2 separate regions of the Homo sapiens genome follow, and region 2 is linked to region 1. Evidence: promoter capture Hi-C in human tissues and cell types (Jung and others, 2019). All regions are on one chromosome and are shown on one strand. Each heading gives the region's core, a stretch centred on a gene start or on the middle of the fragment in contact. The rest is flanking DNA. Distances are from core to core; before and after follow the strand shown. Region 1 holds the start of GHR (growth hormone receptor). Region 2 overlaps C7 (complement C7).

Region 1 (4,911 bases), core at 1-2,500:
AGTTCTGTCAAAACTTTAAGCCTGGTTGATTTTACAACCACTAGTGTGTCAAAAGCTGGGGGAGGTCGGCTCGCCACAATTTCCACTTACCCCAGTTCATGCGGACTGGTGGCTGTCACTCTACTGACCCCAGTTCCATCGGTGCCAACGTGCGGCTGCGGCCCGCACAAACGCGCAAAAGACCGCGCGCTCTGCGCGCTGTGTCCACGCGCACAGCTCGACCTCCCCAGTCTCTCCAGTCGCGCTGCCGGGGATTCTTCCCCGCGCAACAGCAGCAGCCTCGGCAGTTCCTGCCGCAGCCAGGCAGATGATGGCAAACAGAAACACACTAGCAAAACTTTTATGACTTTAACAAAACTGTCTCCGGAGTAAACCCCTCCACGTACACTACTCGCGGGCCAGAGCAGACGCCAGAGTGTGATGGTTCGTCTGTCGCCCGCAACTCCCTGCCGCCCTCACCAACTTCCAGACACACACACACACACACACACACACACACACACACACACACACACACTAGATTGGGTTACAACAACCCACCAGCAGAAAACAACTTCTTCGCAAGGAGGAGGGGAGCACAGCCAAGTCATCCGGAATAAAAAATTATCCGTGTAAATATATAAGACAGATCCTCCCGTTTTCATAAACAACTAGAGTCCCAGGGTTCACCCTCAGGCCCCCTGGCACAACAGGAGGAAAATAAAGCCAGACTCCCGGAGCCCCACTCCAGTACCTCCGAGCTTCGCCTCTGATCAGAGAGCGCGGGTTCGCGTCTGCGCTGGGGCCAATGGTGCCGGGGCCTCCGGCCCGCGTGGCCCCAGCCCGGGGTCCCCGCCGCCGCCCGGGCTCAGCAGCAGCCGCCGCCGCCACCGCCACTGTAGCAGCTGCTGCTGCCGCTGCCGCCGCCGCCGCCGCTCCCTAGCCCTCCTCCTCTTCCCATGGCTGCGCCCTGCTTGGCAGCTCGCGGGCTGTCAGGCTTGGGGAGGAGAGAGGGGGCGGGGTGAAACGGGAAGGGAGGATGGGAGGGCAGGGGTGGGAAAAGGCGGCCACCGTTCACCAGGGGTCACGCCGCGCCTGGCCCGCAGTCCCCCAGATCCAGGTTGCAGAAGCGAAGGCGAAGCGGACGTTCAAGGAGGCCAGTTCGAGAACTGCTGCGGAGAGGCCGAGTGCCGCCCGGGCCAAGCATTCCGAGTTGCTGGGATGAAGTCTTCCCGGCGAGGAGCTGGAGTTGGTGCGTGTCACTCTCAACTGAGCTGCGCGGCTCCTCCTAGAGGAAAATATTGGTAGTTGCAATACACTTCCTTCCTCTCCGCCTGCCCGTTCCAAATGAAAGCAGGACCTACAAGAGCGTTAAGTGCAGTCCACAGACTCAAAGAAACACTTACAAAAAGGTTAGCTATCTCCAGGAATGAGAGGAAGATCAGCGAGATACCTTGGAAAGCGTGTTTAGCCATCCAAATATTGCCTTTCCATCAACAATCAAGTTCCAAACTCCTGCTCACTGGGGCACAGTGAAAAGATAGTTAAAACTACGAAGGACTTTATTGTGGAGGTTAGAAGACGGAGACAGAGAGAATGAGTAATTTACCAAGGACACTCAGCATGTTAGCAGAGAGGTATCTGCTAGAGGACAGGGATGCAGGGAGAGCAGACACAGGCCCCAGCCTGAAGTTCCTGAGCCAGGAAAAGGGTTTTAACTCTGCCTCACGCTGGACATAGCTCATCTGTCAAATGCGAGCCCTGCCTACTTCATTCACAAGAAGTTGTAAAAGTGTTGCAGAAAGTTAAAGTTGTGCATAAGCATGTCATTTTTGTACAGCATCAAACCCCAAGTCACTATATGCTTTTCTGAGTAGAGAGTACAAAAATCTAGCTCCAGGTTGTCTCAGATCTGAAGGAGTAGCTAGTCATGCAATCTTTCCACTATTTACTGACGGTCAATTGTAATGTCACTTACTTATAAGCTTCTAACAGCTTTGGCTTACTAAAGACTTTTTTTTTTTAACAGAGCTCCCAGACACAAACCCAAGTTTATACCCAGAAAGAAATGTTTAAACAACTTAAAGGAACCAAGTTTCTTTTCTTTAGAATAAAATATCTATAGGGCTTTGAAGTAGTACACGGGAGCCAAGACTTGAGAAGGAACAGAGGACCAAAGACTCTGGGATAGCAGATATCACATAAGATACCCCTATTTTCAAAGGAATCAGATAAGTGAAAAACTGTTCCTTAGAATGCTTTCAGAAGCTCAGCTGTGGCTCAAATACCCCAGCTGTTCCAGACAGACACCTAGAATGAACGAAAAAGGAAAGATTCTGGAAGGGGCGTGTTTTATCATGGGGTGGGATGGTTATTGATCCTGAACTGCTCTTGTTCTATGGCATCTAAAAATAAGGAGGCATTTAGTTCCCCTAAGACTCTTCCCCAAACCATTGATTTCTGGGGCTTCATACTTTGCTGGAGCAATAGTGGTGCTTGGCTGTGTCTGGAGCTTTTAAAAGGGGAGGTACCCATATAGAGAAACTTGGGAAAGTAAAAGATTAGGGCACAGTCAAGAAAAACTCCTGCTGGGTGGTCCATACCTGCCAAGCTGGCTGACAGGGTAGTCCTGGCAGGAGTAGAGACCAGACAGGCCTCAAATGCTGACTCCACGCCTGTCTGAAATGACCTTCCAAGTTGGACCTTCTTCAGAGCCTGGCACTACCAACCTCTCTGTTTATATCCTCTCTGTGCCTTCTCATCCTTTGCCCTTCTTCCCTGAGCTAGAGAATCTTGATCTAGTTTAGGAGGTGCCAGACGGAGTCATAAAAGATATTCTAAATTCTATTGTTTATGCTCTGAGATGAGCTCAGGGCCATACTTAAAAAAATAAGAATTGACTTCTTTTTTTTTTTAAATCTGGGTTCAGCAATATCCTCCATTCTGTGTGCCATGAAACTAGACTACTCTGGCTGCTGCTCTGTCTTTGATTTTTAAAAAGTCATCATGCACAGAAAACATAGGAAAAGACACCTCAGTTAATACTATAGAACTAGATATAAACCTGCAACTGACATGAAGGGCAGTCTTTATTTTTAAGCCTCGTAAGTAAAGGTCCTTCAATCTCATATATGACCAGGTATTGGTCCATAGTAGTATGTGCCTCTTTATATATTCCAAATTGTGAGGGAAAATGTAGCAGGTATTGAGTTGATTAATTTGTTATAAGTTAAGGCATGCCAGAGCACATTTACCTTCTGAAGAATGAAACTGCATTTGCTCATGGTTTCCACTCTGCTTGGAAGATCCTACTTTGTCCACCCAGAGAAATCCTTCTTAATCTTAAAGTTCCAATCAATTGTTTACTTTCTCTCTGAAGGTCTTCCTGACTATTCCCCAGGGTGGAATTAATTAATTCTCCCTGTATCAGCACCTTTATAGGCCTTTATATCTTCTTTTATTAAATATTGCAGTTTTGTTGACATGTCTGCTTTTCTCATTAATTAAGAGATTTCTGAGGGAGAAACTATATATTCTTAATATCTGTACCTGCAATGTCTAGGTTAGTGCCCAGTATTTACAGAGTTTATAAAGCGTCCAATAAATAATCAAATTGAATGAAAAGTTGTATCTCTTGGATTTATATCTCTAACCCAGATCTCTCCACAGAGCTCCAGGCTAACAACTGGGTATCTCCATTTGGATGTCTAACAGACCTCTGAAACTTGACATGTCCACATCTGAACTCTGGTTCTTTCTCCTTAAACATACTCCAATCACAGTGGGTGACATTTCCATCTCAGTAGATGGCAACTACTTCCTGCCAGTTACCCAGGCCACAAACCTTTGAAATCATCCTTACTTCTTCTCTGCCAATCACATTCCACATTCAAAACTCTGTCTATTTTCTTGGAGAGGTCCAGAGACACCTGGTCTGAACCACCAGAATTTCTCAGATTACTGCAGTAGTCTCTCAACTCAACTGGTCTGCTTGCTTTGACAAACCCCACCCCTAATCCCCAACCAACACCAACAACAACCCAAAGTATAAATTCAGTTGCCATAGTCATTCCTTTTAAAATTAATATCATGTCATTCCTCAGCTCAAAACCCTCCAATGGTTCCCCATTCAAATCAGAATAAAATTCAAAATGGCCCATGAGACCCTACGTGAGCTATGTACCTTTGCCCCACACCTCATCTCCCATGAATTTCCCCATCACTGGGTCATCCATTCTGCTCCCAGCACACCGGCCTCCCTGCTGTTTCTTAAGCAGGCCAGGCAGACTCCTAACTTGAAGGCTTTTTGCTGGCTTTTCTCTCTGATTTAAACACACTTCCACAAATATTCATTTGCTTCCTCCTACAGTTCCTTGAAGTCTTTACTCAGATATTGGCTAACTTATCTTGTCCAACCTATTTTACCTTATTATGGCCTTACCTTATTATGGCCCACCCTTCCCCAGTCTTTTATACATCCCCAGTAGGGCTTAGCAAAAAATATAAACTGCCTTGAAGACAATAGAAACAATTAGAAAATAATTCTGATTATATATATTCAAGTGCAGATATCTAGGTCAGATCGCCATCTCCCCAAACCATAAAACACCACAGTATAAACTTCCTAAATCTACAGTTATCTGAGGTTAGAGCATGGCTTTAGTCACTCTGTTGTACTATAAAATGCCAAAGCTTCTTCTCAAAACAAAACAAAAGAGGCCAAAACACTTAAAGTAGCATTTTATAGCTGTTTTGTTTTATAGCATTTGTAGTTGAAGAACATAGGATTGTTAGTCAGGAGCCTTGGGATCCTGTGTGGGTCCTCTGTGATTTTGGGTAAATTAGTTACTAATCTCACAATGACTCCATTTCTTGGCCTATAGAAGGAAGGGGTTGCTCTCTGAGATCATTCAGCTGTAAAATAAAGTATTA
Region 2 (5,407 bases), core at 1,688-4,187, 1.5 Mb after region 1:
AGAACCATCTCTGTTAGCATGTAGGAATGCTGCTGATTTTTGCATGTTAATTTGGTAGCCTGCAAATTTACTGAATTAATTTATCACTGCTAAGATTTATTTAGTGTAGTCTTTCATTTTTTTTTTTTTTTGGAGACAGAGTCTTGCTCTGTCGCCCAGGCTGAAGTGCAGTGGCATCATTTTGGCTAACTGCAACCTCAGCCTCCCAAGTTCAAGCAATTCTCCTGCCTCAGCCTCCTGAGTAGCTGAGATTATAGGCGTGCACCACCACGCCCAGTGAAGTTTTGTATTTTTAGTAGAGATGGGGTTTCCCCATGTTGGGCAGGCTGGTCTCAAACTCCTAACCTCAGGTGATCCACCCTCCTTGGCCTCCCAAAGTGCTGGGATTATGGGCATGAGCCACCATGCCCAGCCTACATTTTTTTCTAAATATAAGTTCATGTTGTTTAAAAGCAAGAATAACTTGACCTCTTCCCTTTAAATTTGAATGCCATTTATTTTGTTGTCTTGCCTAATTGCTATCGTTAGGACTTTCAGTATTATATTGAATAAAAATGGTGACAGTGAGGAAAAATAAAAAATAAATGTTTGGTAGAATTCAGCCATGAAGCCATCAAGTCCTCTGCTTTTTTTTTTTTTTTTTTAATGGGAGAACTTTTATTACAGATTCAATCTTTTTACTCATTATTGGTATGTTCAGATTTTCCATTTCTTTATGATTCAGTCTTTGTATGTTGTATGCTTTGGAGCACCTAAACATATAAAACAGATATTTATATTTATACAATATGTAAATATTGTATTGCAACCCATCTCTTTCTTCAGATCCACAGGATCTGATGGATTGCAATGTAACAGTAGAAAACTTCCATACCTCACTTTCAATGCTGGAAGATCATCCAGACAGAAAATTAATAAGAAAACATTCAACTTGAACAACACTTTACAGAAACACTTTACAGGACCTAAATGAACAGAAGAATTTAACCACTTCTTCTTAGTTATCCAATTTGTTGATGTATAATTGTTGATGATAGTCCCTGATGATCTTTTGTATTTTTGTGGTATTATGAATCTTCTTTTTTTTAAATTAATCTAGTTTGTCAAATTTGTTCATCTTTTCAAAAAAGAACTTATTTTATCTATCTTTTGTATTGTTTTTCTAGTCTCTATTTCATTTATTTCTGCTCTGATTTTTATTATTTCCTTTCTTATGCTAACTTTGGCTTAGTTTATTCTTCTTTTTCTGTTTCCTTGAGGTATGACATTAGCTTATTTATTTTAAATCTTTCTTCTCTTTGATGTAGACATTTATTGTTATAAACGTTCCTCTTTGAACTGTTTTTGCTGTATCCCATATGTTTGCTATGTTGTGTTTCCATTTTTGTTTATCTTAAGATAACAAGATTTTTATCTTGTTATCTAAAGATTTTTAATTTCCCTTTTAATTTCATTGACCTATTGGTTGTTGAGGAGCATGCTAATTTCCATATATTTGTGGATTTTTCAAAATTCCCCCTATATTCATTCATTTATTTTTATTTATTTATTTTTAGAGACAGGGTCTTTTTCTGTCACCCAGGCTGGAGTGCACTCGCACAGTCATAGCTACTGCAGCCTTGAACTCCTGGACTTAAGCAATCCTCCCACCTCAGCTTTCCAATTAGCTGGGACTACAGGTGCATAACATGACACCTAGCTTCCTCCCATAATTGATTTCTAGTGTCATATCACTGTGGTCAGAAAAGATACTTGAGGCCAGTTGTGGTGGCTCACACCTGTAATCCCAGCACTTTGGGAGGCCAAGGTGGGCAGATCACTTGAGGTTAGGAGTTTGAGTCCAGCCTGGCCAACATGGTGAAACCCCGTCTCTACTAAAAATACAAAAATTAACTGGATGTGGTGGTGCACGCCTGTAGTCCCAGCTGCTCGGAAGGGATGAGGTGGGAGAATCACTTGAGCCTGGGAGGTGGAGGTTGTAGTGAGCTGAGATCAGACCACTGCACTACAGGCTGGGTGACAGAGCAAGACTCCAACTCAAAAAAAAAAAAAAAGATACTTGATATAATTTCAATCTTCTTAAATTTGCTGAAGCTTGTTTTTCCCCCTAAAATGTTATCTGTCCTGGAGAAAGTTCTGTGTGCACTTGAGAAGAATGTGCATTCTGTTGCTGTTGGATGGAATGTTCTGTGTGTGTGTGTGTGTGTGTGTGTGTGTGTGTGTGTGTGTGTCTGTTAGATTCATTAGGTCTAAAGCGATTTTCAAATCCAATGTTTTCTTACTAATTTTCTGGATTATCTTTCATTGTTGAAAGTGGCGTATTGAAATACCCTACTATAATTGTATTGCAATCTGTCTCTTCCATCATATCCTTAATATTTATTTTATATATTTAGGTTCTCTGAAGTTGGGTGCATATATATTTACAATTGTTATACCCTCTTGATGAGTTGACTCCTTTATCATCATATAATGTCCTTACTTTTTTTTTTTACAGTTTTTGACTTTAAGTCTATTTTGTCTTATATAAGTATAGTTATCCCTGCTTTCTTTTGGTTTCTATTGATGTGGAATATCTTTCTTCCATTGCCTAATTTTCAATCTGTGTGCCCTTAAAAGTGAGGTGAGTTTCCTGCAGGTAACGTATAGTTGGCTCTTGTTTTTTTATTCATTCACTTACTCTATATCTTTTTACTGGAGAACTTAATTCATTTACATTCAAGGTAATTATTGATAGATAAGGACTTACTACTGCCATTTTGTTATGTTGTTGTTGTTGTTTTTCTTGTTGTTGTTGTTGTGGTATTGTAGATACTTTTTTTTTGGAGATAGGGCCTCTCTTGCCCAGGCTGGAGTGCGGTAGTGTGATCACAGCTCACTGCACCCTCGACCTCCCAGGCTCAAATGATGCTCCCACCTCAGCCTTTGTGAGTAGCTGGGACCACAGGTACGTGCCACCACATCCAGCTAATTTTTTTTGAAGTTATTGTAGAGATAGGGCCACCCTATGTTGCCCAGGCTGGAAGATACATTTTTCTTTCTTTCTGTCTTGTTGTCTTTGTGGTTTCGCAGTTTTCAATAGTGGTATTCTTTGAATACTATTTCTGTTTTGTGCTTCTACTAAAGATTTTTGCTTTGTGCTTATTATGAGGCTTCCAGAGAACATCTTATAATCACAACAGCTTATTTCAAGGTGATTACAACTTAACTTTGCATACAACTCTACATTTTTACTCTCCCGTCAAACAGTTTATATTTTTTTGATGTCAGAATTTACATCATGTGTATCCTTTGAAAAGTTATTTTAGTGTTACTATAGTTGTCATTAATAGTTCTAGCTTACATTTCTTAAATGATTTGAAAACTATTACATTTGTACAAGTCAAGATTTGTGACTTGGCAGTATAAAAAGTGAAAGAACCATGGAGAAGGCTAAGTGACTCTGCTTATCTTTTTAAGTTTCTATTTTAAATAGAAGTTTGAAGGATCTTCAAAAAATTAAAAATAGAACAAGCATATGATTCAGCAATCCCCTACAGGGTATATAGCCAAAGTAAATGAAATCAGTATATCAAAGAGAAATGTGCACTCCCATGTTCATTGCTGCATTATTTACAATAGCCAAGATACAGAACCAACCTAAGTGTCCATCAAAGGATAAGGGGATAAAGAAAATGTGGTAAAGAGACACAATGAAATAGTACTTGGCCTTAAAAAAAGAAGAAAATTCTGTCATTTGTGACAACATGGATTAACCCAGATAACATTATGTTAAGTGAAATAAAACAAGCAGAAATAAAACATTCAGTATTTTTCTTTCTAGAAAAATACTTATATTTGGAATCTAAAAATGTTGAAGTCTAATAAGTAAAGAGTAAAATGGTTACCAAGGGCCATGGGGGCAGGGTGGGGATTGTTGAAGAGATGTTGGTCAAAGGTTACAAAACTTCAGTTACATAGAAGGAATAAGTTCAAGAGATCTATCATACAAAATGGTGACTTACTTAATACCAATATATTATATTCTTTTTCTTTTTTTTTTTTTTGAGATGGAGTCTCGCTCTGTCACTCAGGCTGGAGTGCATTGGCACAGTCTTGGCTCACTGCAACCTCTGCCTCCCAGATTCAAGTGATTCTCTTGCCTCAGCCTCCCAAGTAGCTGGGATTACAGGTGAGCGCCAACATGCCTGGCTAATTTTTGAATTTTTAGTAGAGACTGGGTTTCACTATGTTGGCCAGGCTGCTCTAGAACAATGTATTATATTCTTAAAAACTCCTAAGAGAGTAGATTTTAAGTATTCTCCCTACAAAAGTATGGGAGGTAATGCATATGGTTAATTAGCTCAATTGAGCCATTCTACAATATATACATATTTTATAACATCATGTTGTGCACAATAAATAGACACAATTTTTATTTGTCAGTTAAAAGAAATAAATTACAAAGATAAATAAATGCTTTTTTAAAAAAAAAATAAAAATTTGGTACAATCCTGTCAAACTCTATCTCCTACCGCTGAATTCTCTAAAGACAAGTAAGGGTTGGGTGATGCCATGGACACACAAATTGAAAATACTCAGTAGACTTAAATGGTTTCGAGCATTTCCTTAAGGTCCCATCATCTTTTAATCCCTTATTCCACTCCGGTTCTCTCTGACTACAGCACTCCGGAGGGATACCAAGAGGAGAGAAAACCTGAATGAAGTAGCAGTGCAAATGGCTGATTTTAAAAAGAAACCAAGCTTCCTAAGTTGGTAATCAAGGTTGAAGCACAGCAGTAGGCAGGGGGCAGTGACTCTCATCTTATTCTTTAGTACTGTGGGTGGTCCGTTTGATGTTTAAAACACTCCTGAGGCCTTTTATGATCATCTTTATGTGATAGCACAAGCCTAAATAAATACAGAGGATCTGATAGGTTACAAAATTGTACATAAAATGTGATTACATTTTGTTTGAAAAATCAAATGTGCATTGAAAAACAAAATCTAGAAAGAAATATAATAAAGCATAATAGTTTATTTCTGGTTGTCAAATTATAGGTAGTTTCTATTATATATTTTCCTACTTTAACTGTATGTATTTTCCTACTTTAACTGATAGCTGAAGGTGATGGAGAAGATACAATTCAAATCTTTACTGATTCTCTAAGAATATCAAATGCATCCAATTTATAACTCTGGATAAAGGACTTTAAAATCATCTCACATTTTAATAGCCCAATATTTTCTCTCTTCTTCCTGAACTCCCCAAAACTCTTTTTCTCAATGTACCTATGAAAAGTCTTCTTAACATTATTTTCTGGATCTTTCCACTATCCTTCTTAGATAACCCATTCTCTTATTAGGTATCTTTTTTTCAGTTGTAAAATTCTGCCTGCCTGCTTCTGGCTGTTAGAGTTCTAAAAAT

What was found. The method cuts DNA at HindIII sites, captures the fragments that hold promoters and counts their contacts. A contact is called where the count stands out against the background at its distance.
Region 2: a fragment that was not itself captured here is called in contact with the fragment with the promoter of GHR in region 1 in 1 of the 25 tissues and cell types used here (aorta).

The regions. Positions count from the first base shown.
Region 1 is chr5:42,419,778-42,424,688 of GRCh38, reverse strand. GHR (growth hormone receptor) reads right to left here and starts at 1,250. Exons shown (of 10, transcript NM_000163.5): 1 at 734-1,250. RefSeq lists promoters at 1-45, 210-557, 210-978, 1,176-1,276, 886-1,458 and 1 more, cis regulatory regions at 1,081-1,121, 1,459-1,967 and an enhancer at 1,105-1,254. The HindIII fragment of the contact is 10,174 bases long and covers 1-3,318 here.
Region 2 is chr5:40,915,774-40,921,180 of GRCh38, reverse strand. The region is part of intron 1 of C7 (complement C7); the gene reads right to left. Among named protein-coding and RNA genes, the nearest start is that of C7, 9.0 kb to the right of the region's middle. RefSeq lists an enhancer at 4,475-5,010. The HindIII fragment of the contact is 5,596 bases long and covers 140-5,407 here.